Regions from separate parts of the Homo sapiens genome. Here all the other regions are linked to region 2. The links are contacts of gene promoters, found by promoter capture Hi-C in blood cells and fetal thymus (Javierre and others, 2016). All regions are on one chromosome and are shown on one strand. Each heading gives the region's core, a stretch centred on a gene start or on the middle of the fragment in contact. The rest is flanking DNA. Distances are from core to core; before and after follow the strand shown.

Evidence for each region. The method cuts DNA at HindIII sites, captures the fragments that hold promoters and counts their contacts. A CHiCAGO score of 5 or more calls a contact.
Region 1: a contact is called between a fragment that was not itself captured here and the fragment with the promoter of PTPRK-AS1 in region 2, in 1 of 17 cell types (naive CD8 T cells). The highest score is 5.9, in naive CD8 T cells.
Region 3: a fragment that was not itself captured here is called in contact with the fragment with the promoter of PTPRK-AS1 in region 2 in 2 of 17 cell types (naive CD8 T cells and total CD8 T cells); the score reaches 5.6 in naive CD8 T cells.

The regions. Positions count from the first base shown.
Region 1 is chr6:127,760,679-127,764,657 of GRCh38, reverse strand. All of the region lies in intron 4 of THEMIS (thymocyte selection associated), which reads left to right. Among named protein-coding and RNA genes, the nearest start is that of LINC02536, 99 kb to the right of the region's middle. The HindIII fragment of the contact is 3,999 bases long and covers 1-3,692 here.
Region 2 is chr6:128,025,488-128,029,342 of GRCh38, reverse strand. It overlaps PTPRK-AS1 (PTPRK antisense RNA 1), which reads right to left and starts at 1,478. Exons shown (of 5, transcript NR_125849.1): 1 at 1,420-1,478. The region is part of intron 13 of PTPRK (protein tyrosine phosphatase receptor type K); the gene reads left to right. The HindIII fragment of the contact is 8,791 bases long and covers 1-3,855 here.
Region 3 is chr6:127,719,822-127,723,763 of GRCh38, reverse strand. THEMIS (thymocyte selection associated) reads left to right here. Exons shown (of 6, transcript NM_001010923.3): 5 at 3,941-3,942. Among named protein-coding and RNA genes, the nearest start is that of LINC02536, 58 kb to the right of the region's middle. The HindIII fragment of the contact is 1,119 bases long and covers 1,900-3,018 here.

The sequences.
Region 1 (3,979 bases), core at 444-2,943, 260 kb after region 2:
TGACTGCCAGTGCTTTAGGGTAATACCAGCATGCAACACCTGTCTTGGATCAATGTTATTACCAACTGCATTATTTTAGGAAATAAGGCCTGAAATAGTCAAGGAGTGGATAAGGAGAGGTGTTTGTAGCCTAGTGTCCCATTTAGGCCTTCTCTGCAGCTATGATATCTCTGTATAAACTTAAGAAACATTTTCTTTTATATTTTATTCTTATTGATTATAGGAGTCTGCTGCAGACATGCATTTCCTAACCACTTTTTAATGTTTTAATGTTTCTTTAGTATTAATTCTATACCAAAATTAAATGGACGTTACTATAGTAAAAAAAAAATGCCTCAAGATTATAGAGTTCAACAAAATGAAAGAGAAAGAGAAGCTAAATTTTGGCAAATGACTGTGGAAAAAAATACAGAAAATGGGTTTCACCTTATTTAGTCTCTACCTCATGGGGTTTTATAAGTATTAAATGGGATAAAGTTTGTGCAATGCCAGGTACCTAGTAAACACTCAGTAAATATTGCCAATCATAAAGCCTTCTATTACCAATTTTCTGATACGAAATATCTTGCACACTTTCCTGTGTCTTTCTTTCTAAACTTGGGATAAATTTCATGATACTCTCATTTGTTTCTTCCTTAACTACATCTAATTAAACCAGATTTTAGGAATCTATAAGTTATATGCCCTCTCTGAATGATCTCTTCGATAGTAATATAATGTGAGCCACAATTTTGAGTCATATATGTAATTAAAATTTTCCTAGTAACTGTATCAAAAAAGCAAAAAGAAACAGGGAAAAACTTCTTTGAGTGATATACTTTAGCATGATATTTACAAAATATCATCAGTTTCATTGATTTACATGTAATCAATGTAAAATTATTAGACAAAACTTACTTTTACATTTTAAAAATCTAGTACTTATATTATACACATCTCAGTTCAGACTATCCACATTTCAATAATTCAATAGCTACCTGGTCAATGTAGTTTTATATGAAGAGAAAATGAAGTTTACAATAAAGAAAATTATCTCTAGTTACATATTTTCAATCATTTGCAAGTGGATAAGGTAACTTTTTTCATGGATCATGATAAGTAAGGAGAGTAGAAAAGCTAGGACAAAGACCTTTTTTTTGGTTTGTTTTTGTTTTAAATCACTTCTAATTATAACCTACTTTGTTACGCAGAAGTCTAGAGTTGGGCAGAAACACCTGTCTCAAACAGCCATCAATTCTTTGGAGTATTCAAAATTAACTTTTGTTTGGGATGATGTTAGTTAGTTAATCTAGTCATAGCCACAACACGAATATTGATTTTTGATGATTCAATGAGATAATGCACACAAAAGCATTCTGTAAGTTATACAGCACTATAAATGCATAGTGAGGATCAAGACTATTTTAATCACATAGAGAATTCATTGGTGAGTGCACCTAAATTAAAATATAATGCTTTCCCTTTCCTTTCTAAATTGACCTTTCCCTGTACAAGTTATTCATGGAAATCAGACACATTCTTTTCTTTCTTAAACTCTTAGGTCTCAAGCTAATAGGTAAGAGAGTAAACCCTGGTTGGGATTAATTTTTCAAAGGGAATACTTAAAAGCATTCCCTTTGTCTTTCCTTTCATTTCCCCAATCCAATTATTTCATACTTATATAATGGTTGTATGGGTCTCCAATTATCTATCTTTTTTTTTCAGTGCAGATAAACAGCTGATTAAATCTTTCTTTGATTTTTATGAAATGTAGTAACTTGGTAGACAACACTGAATGTATTACTTCTGTGTATGTAGCCTAGAAATACTTAGAACAATGGCAGCAAAAGCAGGTAATGCAAGGGAGATGATAGAAATGAGAAATTAAAGCAAGGTCAATGCCAATTCCATAGGCTAATTATAGTTTTCAGTGCATTATGAGTATTGAAAACTGTTTAGATTGAGTAGAGGAAATAATGGAGATGGTGACAGTTATTTTAATTAATTAGAGTGGCCAGGGAATGAAGTGAGCAAGACAATCATGTCTACTTCTGAGAGAAGAACCTTTCCAGGTGGAGGGGACTGACAATGCAAAGACCTTGAAGTAATAAGTTTCTTGTCATGGCTGGAATAGAGATGAATGGTAGTATATTTTATCTGAGAGCTGGCAGAGAGCCAGAGTGCATAAGGAATGATAAGCGCTTTAGATTTCTTTTCTGAGTAAGACAGGATGCCAACAGAGGATTCATTTTTGTATTTGTTATTGTTTCAGTTCTGGTAAGAAGACATGAGATCTATCATTGTAACAAATTTTTACCTATACAATATAATATTGTTGAATATAGATACCATATTGTATACAATATCTTTAGAGCTTATTCATCTTCCTTGACTGAAACTTAATTTGTCACTCCTCATTTCACTGTCTTCCCACCTGACAACCACCATCCCTTTCTGGGATTCTATGAATTTGCCTAGTTTTAGATACATCATATAATAGAATCGTGATATATTTATCTTTCTATAACTGGCATATTTCAATTAGCATAATGTCTTCCAATTCATACATGTTGTCACATACTGCAGAATTTCCTTCTTTTTTAAAAAATCTGAATAGTATCCCCTTGTATGTATAGCGTACATTTTCTTTATCCATTCATTAATCAGTAGACATTCAGGGTGTTTCCACATCTTGATTATTGTGAATACAACTGCAACGAACATAGAAGTGCTCCTATCAATTTGAGATACCGATTTCAGTTCTTTTGGATAAAAAACTCAGAAGTAGGATTGCTGGATCATATGGTAGTTCTATTTTTAATTTTTTGAGAGTCTCCATACTGTTTTCCATAATGGCTGTGCTATTGGCACTCTGGGTTCTTGTAATCTCCCAGGATAGAAATAAAGAGAGATCACTAGACATAGCAGCAAAGAGAAAGAGAAAGATTTATTTCACTTGTGCACAAGGAAGTCAGCACTACAAAAAGAAAAGGGTGGGCTGCTCCCTGAGAGTAGTATGTGCATTAGTTTTATAGGTCCTTTCTATAGGGAAGGGTTTCATCAGGTCCTGTATAGCAGGGGTTTCTCTAGTGCTTGTTCAGTGGCCTTATGCACTTCTTAATACATTGCATGGAAGATATGCAGTTTAAATCTCCACCCCTGGGTATGATTTTTAGCATTAAAATGAGGAAGGGGTAACTGTGAGTTGAAGTTCAAGTCTATCTTCACATGTGGAGTCCCAGGGAAGTCCCTAGCCCCCTAAAGCAGGAACCTGTAATTAATAGCTTCTTGGGTCTTTATTTGATGATTAGCTAGAAGTTAGGTCAGCTATAGCTTGAGTGAGAGGCATTTTTTCTTTTTCTCTAAACCACATCAAAATCAGAAGCCTGCCAGCTTGCCTGTCTCAGCTGTACCTTTGCATTTCCACCAAGAGTGTGCCAATGTTCCCTTTTCTTCACATCCTTGCCAACACTTGGCTTTTGATTTTTTGGTAATAACCATCCTGACAGGTGTGAGATGTTATCTCATTGTGGTCATAATTTGCATTTCCTTGTATGTTTTCTTGGGAGAAATGTCTCCTTAAGTCCTTAGTCCATTTTTAATCAGTTTTTTGGATATTAACCCTTATCAGGTATATGATTTGCAAACATTTTCTCCCATTCTATAGGTTGTCTTATTATTTTGTCAATTGTTTCCTTTGTTGTGCAGAAGCTTTTTTAGTTTGACATAGACCCATTTATTTTTGTTTTTGCTGACTGTACTTTTGGTGTCATATACATGAAATAATTGCTAAGACCAATATCAATAAGCTTTTCTAATATGTTTTATTCTAGGAGTTTTAAAGCTTCAGTTCTTACATTTATGTCTAGAAGAATTTTCTTTTTTTTCTCCCTCTCTTTTAAGAGACAGGGTCTCACTCTGTTATACAGGATGCAGTGCAGTGGCATGATCATAGTTCACTGCAACCTTTAACTCCTGGTCCCAAATCATCCTCCGGGCC
Region 2 (3,855 bases), core at 229-2,728:
AATGGTTCATGGTTCTGCAGGCTGTAGAGGAAGCGTAGTGCTGGCATCTGCTTCTGGTGAGGGCCTCAGGGAGCTTACAATCATGGCAGAAGGTGAAGGGGAACCATGTATCACTTGGCAAGAGAGGGAGACAGGAGAGGGAAGGTCCACACTCTTTAAACAACCAGATCTCACAAGAACACTCATTACTGTGAGGATGGCACCAAGGCATTCGTGAGAGAGCCAACCCCCAAAACCAAAAACCTCCCACCAAGTCCCATCTCCAGCATTGGGGAATACATCTCAGCATGAGATTTGGAGGGCACAAACACCCAAACTGTATCAGTTGATCAAGAACTGACCATGGAAGATGGATAGTTGAAGTCACAAGCAGTCCAGCACAATTCTAACCTTACCATGAATCTGAATTCTTAGCTCACTAAAGATTTAGGAACAGAATTGGGGAGTAGAATTATGGTCATGTAAAAATAGAGTCCGTTTAACATCCTAACCTTAAATCAGAAACCATCAAAGCATCATATCAACAAAAAAATTGTTTTCACTTATGAAAAATATGAATATTAACACAATTTTGTTGCACACTTACTCTCTGCCATATGTCTTACACTAGGCATTGAGAAAATACTAAAAATACATAGGATATGTTCCATGCTCTCAAGAAGTTGTGAATTGTGAAAGAACCTGATAGTTGAAGTAATAATTTCATGCAGTGTGCCTAAACATGAAATAGAATTCCATACAAAGTGACATTTAAATAGGTAGAAAAACCAGAGACCATATCCACACTGGTAACAGCATGGGCAGAGGTTTGCAGTTAGACATGAAAGTTAATGCAGTGTTCAAGAATATACTGAGGAGTTAGTAAGAAATTAGGCTAAAATGTATGTTGATACAGATATGAGAAAGGGCTGTAAGACTCAAGATTCACTTTATCTTGAGGGCAGGGTGGCAGCTATCAACAGTGCTAAAGCACTTTCTCTTCCACTTTAAAAATTAAAACAGTGTGGTAACCTTAAAAGGTGTTCTGAAACAATATTCTAAGCAACTGTTATCACTTTTGCTTTTTCCTTTTTTTTATCAGGTGCTTACTTAAACATTTCTCATAATTGCAAAGATTGTGACTTGTAATTATTTGTAGTTACTATTTTACCATGAGCTTTACCCACATTTTTATGTGTTTTAATTTTAAGTGGCTAAATATTATTATAAATAGTGTGTGCAGTATAATTTATATTCGTCATTTTCATTTTCCCTGAAATCTTTGTAGGCTATTAAGAAGAACAATGATAGGATCATATTTAAGTTTTAGAAAAATGACACCTTAAAAGCTGCAGGTAGATTAGGATGAGTAGGACTTGGAGTCAGAAACTTCAATAAGGGAGTGGCTGCAATATAGACTAGGAAAGAGGTGATACCAACCTGTCAGTGTCCTCATCGGTAAAAGAAGATACAGCTGGGCACAGTGGCTTATGCCTGTAATCCCAGCACTCTGGGAGGCCAAGGTGGGCGGATCACTTGAGGCCAGGAGTACGCACCAACTTGGCCAACAGAGTGAAACCCCGTCTCTACTAAAAACAAAAATTAGTCAGGCACAGTGGCACACGCCTGTAGTCCCAGCTACTCGGGTGGCTGAGGTAGGAGAATTGCTTGAACCCAGGAGAAGGTTGCAGTAACCTGAGATGGCTCCACTGCACTCCAGACTCGGTGACAGAGCAAGACTCTGTCTCAAAGGAAAAAAAAAACATACAACAAGCCTCATAAGTGCTTGTGAAAGCTAATTGAAATAATATATTAAAAGAGTTTGGCATTTAGAAAGCTCTGAAACGATCATTCATTTAACAGAGGAAGCTATGAACATTTTTTTTTTAAAGGTCAGTTTGACTTTTAGGCACCTGATTTCCTGAAGGACTCTTTGAACTCTTTGAATGTGGGTACTGTTTTATGCATTTTCATGTGATAACTAAACAGCCTGATTTACATTCTTGCCCAATATACGTATTTCTTCAAATAATGAACTAATGAATTCCCGGGCAATAAATACCTTTTGGTTAAATGGACAAACAGTTCTGTTCAGTGGGAAACATGCTAGTAGAGTCTGCTTTTAAAGGAATTGCTGTATGCAGTATTCTAAGAAATAATGAGGAAGTATTTTTACTTCAAAATACTTTGATCATAATATGATGATAGGTATTTTCTTCTCTTGCCTGTGAAAGTGTGTGTTAGGTATGTACATTATGGGGCCAAACTAGTGATTGTTGCTAATTAGGATATATGTGGCGCATTCTATCAAGAATCCCAGTTTTCTGGGCACTGTGAGCTGTAAGTCAAGTCATAAAAAGGAGTGAATTGTCTTTTTCATATATAGCACTGAAATTGACTGGAGTTAATTATTTAATGCCTACCTCCCCTACTAGACTACAGGCTGTGTCACACACCTCCCTCAGCATCTAGCACAGCAAATGGATTTAGTAATATTTATTGAATAGATTAAGAAATACAGAGTGAATAAAATAGGACACTGGTTGGAGTGTTGGGTCAACCACAATTTTGGTGTGATATATTCTACATATCACAGTGAGAAGGAAAATGATATAAAATGAATAATATCCTCCTTAAAGTACTATACAAAAAGAATACTTCTTATATTTTTTCAAGATGATGTAATCTTGTCAAATATATAATATGTTGCATGCCAGTGCTTTCTTAATCCTTAATAGTAATACCAGTAATTGTATATTAAGTTCCTGCTATGTGTCAAATACTTCTAGGTACTTTAAATGTATATTCAGTAATCTTCAGAACAAGCCTAGAGAGCAGAATTTAGTTATTTCATTGTAAAGATGAGAAAAGTGGGTCTCAAAAAAAGCAGATAACTTGTCCCAGATCACACAGTAGTTTTTCTTGGTACCTGGAGTGATTTTCATCCCTCTTTCAAATACAACCCTTTGGCTATTGGGAAGTAGCTATTACAACTGTATTTTTTCTTTAACTTGATGTAAGGGAAAGACCACTTTACACATATACAAATAGGAGAAAGTTTTGCCAGACCTTCTGCAGCTAGTATTTACATGAGTGAGTAGAGAATTGTAAGAGGTTCTGGTAGCAGTAAAAACAAATTACAAACAACGGAACATGAAGAGAAGATGTTGTCTACCAACATCTGTCAAATATGGCAGATGATCTTCTTTGTCTTATTTTGTTCAATACCACTCAATATCATCACTTAGGCCTCTCTCTCTTACTGTTTAGATCTCTTGGGATTCTCTTAATTTTTTAAAGCCTATACCTTGAAAAATTCTGTTTAAAAATACATTGGAAAGCATATAGATTTTAGTAGGCTGAATAATGGCTACTGGAAGATACCAGGTCCTAATCCCAATAAGCTGTAAATGTTATCTTTTAGGGAAAAGCGGTCTTTGCAAATGTGATTAAGTAAAGGATCTTGACAAGGTAGATTATACTGGATTAACAGTGTGGGCCCTAAATCCAGTTACATGTATTCTTATAAGAGCAAAGCAGAGGAAGATTTGACAGAGGAGAAGTCAATGTGACCACAGAGGTAGAGACTGGAGTCATGTAACCCCAAGTCAAGGAATGCCAGCAGCACTGGTAGCTGGAAAAGGCAAGGAATGAGTTCTCTTCTAGAGCCTCAGCAGCGAGGGTAACCCTACTGACACCTTGATTTTGGCCCAGTGATACTGCTTTGGGGCCCTCTAGTTCCCAGAACTGTAAGAGAATAAATATGTGTGGTTTTTAGCCATCAAGTGTGTGGCAGTTTTCTGCAGTGGCCTTGAGAAACTAATACAGACATAGAAAATTATTTTATGACTTTTTCTTTTAGATGCAGTTGTTAAG
Region 3 (3,942 bases), core at 1,210-3,709, 310 kb after region 2:
CAGTGAGTGACACTTGCAGGAACCCAGGACTTCTTAATATTAAGGGGGAAATTTTACTAAGAATGCCCTAGGCAAACAGAATAGCCAAGCCTTCAGACAGGAAGGAAGAGTGATGAGATTGTGGACCTGAAAGGACATTAGAATTAGAGTCCAGAGTGCTTACTAAGGCATGCAAGCTCCTGCCTCTCTACACCTCATCTCATTTCATAAATCTCTACCTCCCCGCTGGAGTCATAAACATACAGGTGGTAGATCAAGCTACATGATTGCTGAAATTATCTAGGAATGGAAAAAAGAAAACTGGGAGAATAACAGAACCTTGAGACCTCTTGACACGCAATGTTTGGGTAAAGAAGGATACTCCAGCAAAGGAGACTAAGAATAAGCACTCAGAGTGGAAGGAGGAACATCAGAAACCAAAAGAAGGAGGTGACCAGACATGTCAGATGCTGCTGAGAGGTAAAACAAGTTGAAGTCTGGCAGGTAAAACAAGTTGAAGTCTTCCAGATTGAAGTTTCTGAGCAGCAATGGATGCTGGACAGAGAATAAAGGAAAAAGAGCAAAGGGGTGATGGATATAGAGAAAGTAGAGGGATCAGTGGATCTCAGATCCCAGTGAGGTCCACAAATAGCCTTGGCAGAAACTGTGGAAAAAGCAGTCTTGGAGAAGGAGATTTGGCTGGAGTGGAGAGAATAAACTTGAGGATAGGAGATGAAGAGAAAGAGGAACATACTTAATATTGGAGGTGGAAACATTTCAGCTGATGATAGACTTCAGATGTGATCTTGGGACTGAAAGCATGAGGTAGAAAAAATGAGAAGTTCATTTGTAGTAAGGAGATCCAGGGATGAATCAGACAGAATGTTTATGTAGATATGGATATTGTCCAAGATCATAGCGATGCTGAGGCTAGAAAAGACAAAAGTCTGGGTGTCAAAGCCTTTTTATGAAAAATGCATGGATATTAGTAGATAGATGATACCAACAAGAAGGGAGACGGCACACAGTTAGACGACAGGAATATCAAAGTAGCAGACATGTTTTGCAAGGAGGTAAGGTTGCAACGGACAACACTCAGAGAAGGGGATCCTCCAACTTAAGGGTAACAGGGATGAGGAAGAATAAGCAGGCAGTATCATTCACAGAAGAAGAGGTGTCTTCAAAGAAGAATGAGATTTTCGTCAGGGTAAGAAGGTAGAGACAATATTCAGAAAAGAAGTTGAACAGGTAGTGAAGTTTGCAAACCATAAAGCAAAGTTATCAAGGCATGGTGGAAGAATTTGAGAAATAGGAAAGGGGAGAGGGAAGAGAGAGAATTGAGGGTTAGTGGAGGGCAGTTGGGCAATTAAGAATGAAACACTGTAGGAATTTTATTGTAGCAGAAAAGAGATGCCAGGGTATAATGTGCAGACCCAGGGAACTAGAAGGAGGGGCTAAGTAAACAAGGAAGAGCGAGTGTGGCAAGGTCAGCAACTTAAGAGACACCTACCTCCCTTTACGTTAGGACCTGGGAACAGCAGCCTGGCTATAATATGTAATGTAAAAGAGAAGCTGGAAAATCTGACAGGGGTTGCTTAAGAAGAGACTCCACTGTGGGAACTGTTTCCAGGAAAATGAGGCTCTTAATTACTGAAACACTAATATGTTTATAAAATGTCCAGTGTGCCAGAGGTTTGCACCAGGAAGCACAGAACCTTTACAATACAGAACCTATTCTGATGAAGGGGCTATTTTCTCTCTCAGGTTTTCACAACAATCCTTTTATGAGTAAATAAACTCAGCATTTCTTTTATTTTCAGTCTGGAATATATTAGAATATACACAACTTGCATGAATTCTTAACTTTCCCTCAATGTTTTAATATTTTCAATTGAATTTGGTATGAACAAACATGAAGCTTATTCCTTCTTTGATCTATTGCATTGCTCAGTTCTGAGAAACTGTGATTTAATACTCATGTCATAACTTGAAATAATAATATACTTTTCAAAGGTATGTAATTCAGAATCAGGAAAGTAGTTGGATGCTGAAATCTGCTTCTTTCCAAAAACTACATGATAATAGAGGCCTGACAATAAATTTTAAAAATTACAGTGATGGGCTTATATTTTTGTGGACTGTGGAGGAGCTAAAAATAAACAAGTGGGGTGGTTTAGTTCTAGTTGATACCAACATCCAAACTGATCTTTTGAGCTGTCTTTTGTAGTATTGCTAGGATCCCTTCCTTGGTCATTAGAAAAGGAATTGAGAAATATCTACAAATGACTTACCACACTCTATTTTAATTATCTGCATAAGCAATGTAAGAAATTGTGTTTGAATAATTTGGAGTCTGAGAGAATGTCATGTTATATTTGTATTCTCACACCACATCCATTATCTGGGATACTATAGATAGACGGTGGTTGAATGTACCAGTTATCCGTCAGCATACAATGCTGCATAACCACCAGAAAAACATAATGGCATACAACCAAAATCACATTCATTTAGTTCATGAAGCTGTGGAATTCATCTGACTTGAGCTGGTCTCAGATGATCTAGACTGGTTTCACCCAAACGTCTGGGGCTCCTCTGGCTGTTGTTTGCTTCAGCTTGGACAACTGGGGTGACCTAACTCTGCCCATCTCATGTTCAATCTGCAGCCAGCTAGTCTAGGCATAGCCTCATGGCATAGTGGAAGTTAAGGAATGAGCAAAAACAATTGTGCAAGCCTCTTTCAAGCCTCTGTGTCAATATCCTATTGGGCCAGAAGAAGCCACATTGATAGGCCAAAAGTCAGAGTAGGAGGGCCCTGCAAAATTCTATAGAAAGGACATGGATACAGAGATGGGTGAAGAATGAGGGCTATCCATACATCCAGTCCACCACATTAAAAATCTTAAGAAATCAATCATGAAGAACACTGTCCAAAGTTCAGGATTCATATCGTAAGGCTCAGCACTGTTCATTTTGTTAACTCAAGTGAATTATTTAATCATTCTAAAGCCTAATTTCCTTATTGGCCTTTCTCAAGCTTTAAAAGTGGTTGATTTTATAAAATCAAGCTTTTAATGAATTTCATGCAATATATGGTCTACAGGAGAAACTTTACAGGAAAGTTGTCCATTATACTATCCTTTAGTGAGCCAACATGGCTAGCCTGAATGGCCATAATTGATTAGCTAATATTTACGCTGAGAATCTTCACATATTCTGTAATCTTATTCAATTTGACAAACTTCTAGTCTGGACTTGGGTATGAATTAATTAAGTACTGGAAGTTTAATTTCCAATTGAAGTCTTCACTTTTTGTTCCCATCTGATGATTCTTTGAAGCATACAGTGTGTCAGTATAATGTCAAATGCTGTGACATCTCTTACATGTGAGATGAGTTATAGGGACCATTGATGCTGTGCCTTAATAATTCATTGTTATGATGAATTATTACTCTGAAATTGACTAAAGGAGCTTTGTCAAATTTGCATAATGCTGATTAAAAATGTGGTTTAATTTATAGTAGATGTTATGATTTGTTTTATATAAAGAGTACAGATGATACAGAAATGAAATCTGCTTTTGATTATATAATATGTAATTATGTAATATATAATGAAGTGCTGGATTAGTTAACTATAATAATAAAAACTAAGTAAAAATTTTCTAAATGAAAAATATTTTATAAGCTTCACAAGAAGAAAGTAATATACACAAATAGTCTTTGCAGATGGTTTTCTATGCCTAAAATGACTTCTTATTCTAGTTACTTAGATTGCTTCAAAAATTGTACACCTCAGTTTCCAAAATATATTGATGAACATATAATTTGTAGCTTGCTTTGACATGTCAAATGTTCTGTTTCAGACATACAGAAATGAATTGCCATGTGATAAATCTTTCATATCTCTATGAAGCATTTATTTTGGACTGATAATTTACTTGTGACCTGTGTCATTTCAGCG